Linked DNA regions of Homo sapiens: region 2 is linked to region 1. Evidence: promoter capture Hi-C in 16 types of primary human blood cells and fetal thymus (Javierre and others, 2016). All regions are on one chromosome and are shown on one strand. The core of a region is centred on a gene start or on the middle of the fragment in contact, and the rest is flanking DNA. Distances in the headings are between cores, read along the strand shown. Region 1 holds the start of RNF166 (ring finger protein 166). Region 2 has its middle 1.9 kb from the start of SLC22A31.

The links. Contacts are between HindIII fragments. The CHiCAGO score rates a contact against its expected background, and 5 or more counts as called.
Region 2: a contact is called between a fragment that was not itself captured here and the fragment with the promoter of RNF166 in region 1, in 1 of 17 cell types (non-activated CD4 T cells). The highest score is 5.4, in non-activated CD4 T cells.

Annotation. Positions count from the first base shown.
Region 1 is chr16:88,704,840-88,708,325 of GRCh38, forward strand. It overlaps RNF166 (ring finger protein 166), which reads right to left and starts at 1,569. Exons shown (of 6, transcript NM_178841.4): 1 at 1,332-1,569. The coding sequence starts at 1,486. It overlaps CTU2 (cytosolic thiouridylase subunit 2), which reads left to right and starts at 1,664. Exons shown (of 15, transcript NM_001012759.3): 1 at 1,664-1,759; 2 at 2,297-2,371. The coding sequence starts at 1,692. RefSeq lists an enhancer at 1,044-1,681 and silencers at 1,303-1,582, 1,623-1,932. The HindIII fragment of the contact is 28,082 bases long and covers 1-3,486 here.
Region 2 is chr16:89,200,678-89,204,163 of GRCh38, forward strand. It overlaps a transcript of SLC22A31 not described here. Among named protein-coding and RNA genes, the nearest start is that of SLC22A31, 1.9 kb to the left of the region's middle. RefSeq lists an enhancer at 12-634 and a silencer at 927-1,016. The HindIII fragment of the contact is 3,791 bases long and covers 1-3,486 here.

The DNA of each region.
Region 1 (3,486 bases), core at 319-2,818:
ATTAGCCGGGCGTGGTGGCGGGTGCCTGTAATCCCAGCTACTCTGGAGGCTGAGGCAGGAGGATCACTTGAACCCAGGAGATGGAGGTTGCGGTGAGCCGAGATGGCGCCACTGCACTCCAGGCTGGGTGACAAGAGCAAGACTCTGTCTCAAAAAAAAATATTCCCGTTCAGAGGCTGCCCCCCCAAAATGTCACGGCTAAGTGAGATGGAGGAGCAGGGGCAGAGCCTGTAGCAGCCTCACAAGAGAAGTAGGTAGAGCTGTCCCAGCGTGGGCAGGCGCCTGTGCTGCCTGACACAGGTAATGAAGGCAGCTCTGCATCCTGACACTGGCCCTGCCACCTCCGTGGGTGACCAGCACACATCCACCTAGCAGTCCCAGCTCCCTCTGTACCAGGAGCCCCTGAAGTCAGCTGACTTTGCTTGCAAAATGTTCTAGAGCCTCCTACCAGTCTGGGTGCACCCCCCTCCACTCCACCACCTCAGCAGCTTGGATGTCTGCGGGGAAGCCCTCCTGCTCTCTCTCTCCCCTGCCACTGCTGATTTTGCTCAAGAGCTGTATTATTCAGCACTTAGGAGGGAGCAGACACTGATCTAGGCTTCCTCCCAACGGGGCTGGCAGCTCCAGAATACTTGAGCACAGCTCCCCGCCAGGAGAGCCACGTCCTCCAGTTTCTGTTCCTGAAACACCCTGGAGGAGCCGGCTGTGAGCCCTGGTGCAGCTGGAAACCCCAGCAAGGTGGTCAGTGTCTGCTCCTCTGTGGACCAGCCTGCCTGGCTACTCAGTGATCGGTGTGACTCAAGTTCTCCTTCAAACAAAACTAAGAACATCAGACTCCAAACAAGCCCCTCTAAACTTTAGGGAACTCCTTTCCTCTGTAGTCAAAACAGGCAGACAGCGGGTCCGAACAAGAGTTGATAGCAAAAACTACAAGTTATTTATTTACAACTGCCCATTCCAGCCGCACAAGCCCAAATCCACCACCACTGGCGGAGCGGTGGCACCTGCTGCCCTCTGAGTACCGGAGCGCCCGCCGCAGCCGCCGGGGACCCCGAGCTTGGGCAGGGCCGCAGGTCGCCCGGTGAACCGAAGCAGCAGTCGGACCGGGCGCCTGCGGCTGGCGCGAAGGAGGCTGGGCGGGGGATGAACGCGCCCAGAGGGCAGAGGCGGCGCGGCACAGGGAAACCCGGACCCCACGCGCCCCGAGGCCCCGGCGCCCCGAGTCCCCGCGCGCCCAGTCCGGAGCTGCACCGGGGCGGCCGCCGGCCTCGCGACCCCTCCCGCGGCGGGGCACGGCCCCCTCCCCGCGGCCCCTGGGCGGGCGCGCTCACGTGTGGCCGCAGCTGCCGATGGCCACGGGCCGGTGATAGACCTCCAGGCAGATGGGGCAGGTGTACTGCGCCTCCAGGCCGCTGTCGCCGCCCGCCGGCCCGGCCGGCGGCTGCCGCTGCTGAGCCGAGGCCACCAGGCTGCGGAACATAGCCATCCCGGGGCCAGGCCCGCGCCGCCCGCCGCCCGCTGTCCTGGCCCGGGCCGGCCCGCTAGTCACAGCCGCTACTGCGCCGCGCTGACGTCATCGTAGGGCGCCGCCCCCAGCCGGGCTTCGCGGCCGTCACGGCGCCACTCCGACGTCATCGGGGCGCGCCCTCGCGCTGTCGCCGCCACAGTCTGCGACGGGACCCGGCGTGCCCATGTGTCAGGTGGGCGAGGACTACGGGGAGCCGGCGCCTGAGGAGCCGCCCCCGGCGCCGCGGCCCAGGTAAGAGCTGGCGGCCGGACCCGCCAGGCCGCCCCTCGCCTTCCCGCCGCACTCCTGCCCCGAAGGGTCCCGGCCGGGCTTGCTCCGGGAAGCCCCGCGTGGAGAGCGGGACCTCGCTCCCTAGCACTCGGGGAATGCCTGTCAAGCGGTGACGGCCACCTAGAAGGGGACTTACTCCACTGGCTCGCGCCTCTCATCCTAGCAGCCACTGGGGACGGCTCTGCCGCTGACAGTGCTGTCCTTATTCGGAGAGAACTGGTGCCGTGAAGCTGTCTCGCCTCCCCGTGTCAGCCTTGGGAGACTGAAAAGCGGCCTTTATGTGCCCCCTGAGCCGGCTTTTCTAGGCTAAACATCCCCCCAGAGCCTTTGTTTTTCTTGAAGTTTGGACAGAACACAAGCCTGGGTTTGTGTGTGTACCGAGGTGCCTTTCTCTGACCCAACTCAGGGTGAGAAACAGGAGCTGTCTCCCCAAAGCCCACTAGGCGTGGGGAAGATGTGATCTGTGTTTCTCTCTTCTCCCCCCTCCCATCTCCAAAGCCGTGAGCAGAAGTGTGTGAAGTGCAAGGAAGCGCAGCCCGTTGTGGTGATACGAGCCGGAGATGCCTTCTGCAGGTGAGGCCTGGAGGTGGCTGAGACCCTGGCAAACATGGCCTCGCTAGCAGACAGGATAGCCGCAACTTGTGATGCTTTGTTAATTCTTTTTAAAAACATGTACTTACTTTATTCCTGCTCCTGATGGGGTCCCTCGTGCCCCTGGTGTTGAAGTGGAGGCGAAAGCATTGGTTTCCTGCTTGGGAAAGTTTCCCATGAGCTAGCCACAGATCCCCTGATGAGGTTTCTGATGGAACTTATGGGGACAGTTGGAAGTGGGGCCGTGGTGTCTAGACTGGGATAAGCTGTAGGAGGACCAGGCGTTTGGGGGCAGCTGGAATACATCTAGGGGCGGATCAGAGCATCTTGGGAACTTGGCAGATGGTCTGGGTGAAAGTTTTTAATCTCGTGTGAGATGCTTGTTTCATCTGTGGCAGGATAGAGGCTTGGAAGACCTCTAGCTTTCCCCCAGGCGCTTGTCATGTCTTTCTTGGCTTGTAGCCATTGTATTGTTCAGTTGTTTCCACTAGACTCATAGCTCCCTGAAGGGAGGACCAGGTCTCTCTCCTTTTAGCCCTCTTAATTCCCAGTGGTGGTGCGTGGTTTTTTTGTTGTTGTTGTTGTTTTTTTTGAGATGGAGTCTCCCTCTGTCACCCAGGCTGGAGTGCAACAGCTGGAGTGCATGATCCCAGCTCACTGCAACCTTTACCTCCTGGGTTCAAGTGATTCTCCTGCCTCAGCCTCCTGAGTAGCTGGGATTACAGGTGCCTGCCATCATGCCCGGCCAATTGTTTTTGTATTTTTAGTAGAGACAGGGTTTCACCATGTTGGCCAGGCTGGTTTCGAACTCCTGACCTCAAGTGATCCACCTGCCTCGGCCTCCCAAAGTGCTGGGATTACAGGCATGAGCCACCACACCTGGCCAAGATAGGTACTTCTTTAACCACCCAGGAGCATCTGAAATTGCCAAGAACACCAGGCTGCCGGCAGAATTCACTGAGGAGAGGCTGCTGTGGCTGTATGCTAGGCCCTTGTGGCCAGAAGGGCTTTTGCTGTGCTTGCTGGTCCCAAGGAACAGTGGGGAGCCGGCTCTCTAGGGGAAGGCCTTAGGAATCTACATCGAGCTGGGATCCCCA
Region 2 (3,486 bases), core at 389-2,888, 500 kb after region 1:
GTAAAGGCTGCCTCAGGGGTGTGCAGGTCTCAGCCCCAGCGCGGAAAGGCATGAAAGGGGCCTGGAGGTCCCTGCCGCCCGCCTCCCCATCTCTTCTCACGCAGATCGTCAAGGTTTCCCTTCAGGCAATGCAGTCTCTAGCCCAGCCTCTGCGCACCTCACTGATGGGAAGCCCACCTTCCCCAGTCTGTGCTGACCACGTCAGTCCCTCCAAGCAGAGACTCTGCCTTGGAAAGCCAGCCCAAAGCCACGGTCTGCTGAAGACGCTGGTGGTCCTGAAGCAAATTCCAGGCCCTGCTCCCCCACCGGCGCCTTCGGCTCCAATCCTCCAGCGCCCCAGGCCGCCCCGCGCCTGGCAGCTCCCAGGCCCAGATTCAGCCCCCGCCCGGCCCCTCTCCGCGGGTCCGGCCCGTGCGCGCCCGTCTGCGGCACCGTCGGGCCGGCGGCCGCCCCGGAGCAGGAAGCCCAGGAGGACGGCCGGGGGGCCCGGGTCAGAGGCGCCAGGTAGGATGGAGAAAGGACACCCAGGGCCTCGGCGGGCTGGGGGCGGGGAGGGCTGCGGGGCAGCAGGGACGGGGGCGCACCTGGGTGACCGGGCTTTGCAGGAGGCCGGCGCCGGGCAGCGCGTAGAGCCAGCCGCGTGTGCAGGGCCGGGTGCCGTTGCGTGCGGGCGCGGGGCGCGGGCCCGGGGCGGGTGCAGGGCGCGGGATCGGGGTAGCGCAGGAGCAGGCAGGGGCTCGCGGCTCGCGTGGGCCCCAGGCGCGGGATGGCGGCGTCCAGCAGCGCGGGTCCGCGCAGGGCGCGCAGCGCTGGGGGCAACAGCGTGGGGTCCGGTCGGCAGTGGGGCGCGGGCTGCGCGGTAAGCAGCTCCTCGGAGCTCAGCACCAGCCCCAGCACTATGCAGGGTACCCACGAGGCGGAGGCCAGCAGGCGCCGGGCCCGGCCAAAGCCGCCCGCAGCTCTCAGCACCCGCGCCTCCTGCTCCATCGGTCGCAGGCTGCGCTCGGGACGGGGCGGGGCCTGGACCAGGGCGGGCTCCTGGGGCGGGGCTTTGGGGCGAGGCATTAAGGGGCGGAGCCTGAGTCCAGTGGAGGCGGGGTGTGGGGGCGGGCGGTGTGAGGGCGGGGCCTAAGGCGTAAAGGGGCGGGGCCCGATCTGGGGCATAGGGCGGGGAGGTTGAGGGGCGGGAAGGTTGAGAGGCGGGGCTTGCGGCCGAACCGCGAGGGGGCGGGGCCCCGTGAGGGCGGCACGTGGGGGCCGGGGGCGTGGCAGGGGCGTGGCCGGGAGCGCTCAGGTGCCCTCGCGGCGCAGGTGCACTCAGGTTGCCCGGGGGCGCGCGGGCTCCGGCCGGCGTCCCGGGGTGGTCCCCGCGTGGGGCCGGGGGCGTCCGCGCGGGCGGGGCGAGGTCGGGGAGGGCAGCCGCCCGCCCTCCTCGGCGCTGGGAGCTTTCGGCTGGTACTGCGGGAGGAGCTCCCGGGTGACCCGCGGGTTCTGAAACCGCCGCTCGGGAGCTCGGGGCCTGCGCTGCGTCTACGGGGCGAGCGAGGGAGAACTGACGCCTTTCGCCCGGATCCTTCTCCCCTTCCGAGAACCAGGTAGGTCGCGTTTATTTTCAAGTCCGACTGTTTTCGCGGTAACATTTGTGGGAAACATCACGGTGGATCCTGTGGGTCGCTGAGTTTTCTGACTCCCGGTTTGTCTTATTTTGCTTTGTCAGTGGGCTCTGCGCTCGCGTTAACAATTCGAATGGGCACGTTTCTGCGTTTCAGAACGCTGTTCGCTTCCTCACACTTAGATTGAGGTGGAACTCACGTCACATAAACCGGGTCGCAAGGCTCAGCTCAGCGGGGCCCCCCCAACAGTGTTGCGGGACCAGCACCTTCTCGGGCTCCGGAACAGCTTCTACCCGAGCAGAGCCCGCCCGTCGGCGGCCGCTCTCCGCGCCCCTCCAGGGCCCTGCAGCCCCCGCCCTGCTCCGCGGACCAGCCTGTTCTGACCTCCGTTCAATGGAGCCCTACGTGCTGTGGCCTTTTGTGTTCCGGCGTCTTTCGCTTAGAATCGCGTCTTCAAGGTTCGTCCCCGGTGGAGCGGGGATCAGACCCGCGTTCCTTTTCAGGAGTGAATAATATTCCGTGGATGGAGCCCACACGTTTCTCTCTTCCTCTGTTGATGGACAGTGGGTTGTTTCCACTTTTTGCCTTTTGCGTCCAGTGACACGATGAACATTTTCGTACAAGTATTTGGGTGCCTGTTTCCATTTATCTTTGGTGTATACCTAGGCATGAATAGCTGGGCCTTAGGGTGTGAACTGTTTGTGAAACCGCAGAACGGTTTTCCGCAGCGGCGGTTCGATTTCACCACCAGCAATACAGAAGGGTGCTCGTTCCCCGACATCCTTGCCAACACCCATGTTCCGGTTTGTTTCAGTTATTTTATTGTGATAAAGCACAACAAAATGTATCATCTTAACCATTTTAAGTGTGCAGTTCAGTGGTATCAAATACATTCACACTATGGTGCAGCCGTCACCCCCATCCAGCTCCTTAACTCTGTTCACCTTGTAAAACAGAAACTCGATGCCCGTTACATAGTAACTCCCCATAGCCCCTCCTCCTCGCCCCAGGGAACTAGCATTCTGTATTCTGTGTGTGATTTTGACTAAGCTAAGTATCTCTTAGAAGTGGAATCACACGGCATTTTTCTTTTTGTGAACGGTTTATTTCATTTGGCATAATGTCCTCAAGATTCATTCATATCTTTCCATATGTTAGAATTTCCTTCTTTTTAAAGGCAGAATAATACTCCATTGTATGGATATGTCACATTTGGTTTACCCATTCATCTGTTTCTGTAAACTAGGTTGCTTCCACCTTTTGGCAATTGTGAATAATGCTGTTATGAACATGAAATATAAATATCTCCTTGACACCCTGCTTTGAATTATTTTCAATGTATATACCTAGAAATGGAATTGCTGAATCAGAGGGTAGTTCTATTTTTAACTTTTTCAGGAATCACCATACTGTTTCTACAGTGACTGCACCATTGTACATTTCCAGCAGCAAGGTACCGATTTCTCCCATCCTCACCTACATTGTTATTTTCTGGGTTTTTTTGATGGTAGTCATCCTAATAATGGGTATGGGATGGTATTTCATTGTAGTTTTCATTTGCTTTTTCCTAATGATTAGTGATATTGAACATGTTTTCATGTGCTTATTGGTCATTTGTATATCTTCTTTGGAGAAATATCTGTCCAAGTCCTTTGCCCATTTTTGAATTGGGCTGTTCCTTTTTGTTGTTGTTGTTATTGAGCATTAGCAGTTCTCTCTTTGTTCTAGATATTAATCCATTATTATATATATGATTTCCAAATATTTTCTCCCATTCTGCGAGTAGCTCTTTTACTGTGTTGATATTGTCTTTTGATGCACAAAATTTTTTCATTTTCATGAAGGTCAGTCTGTTTTTCCTTTTCTGGCATGT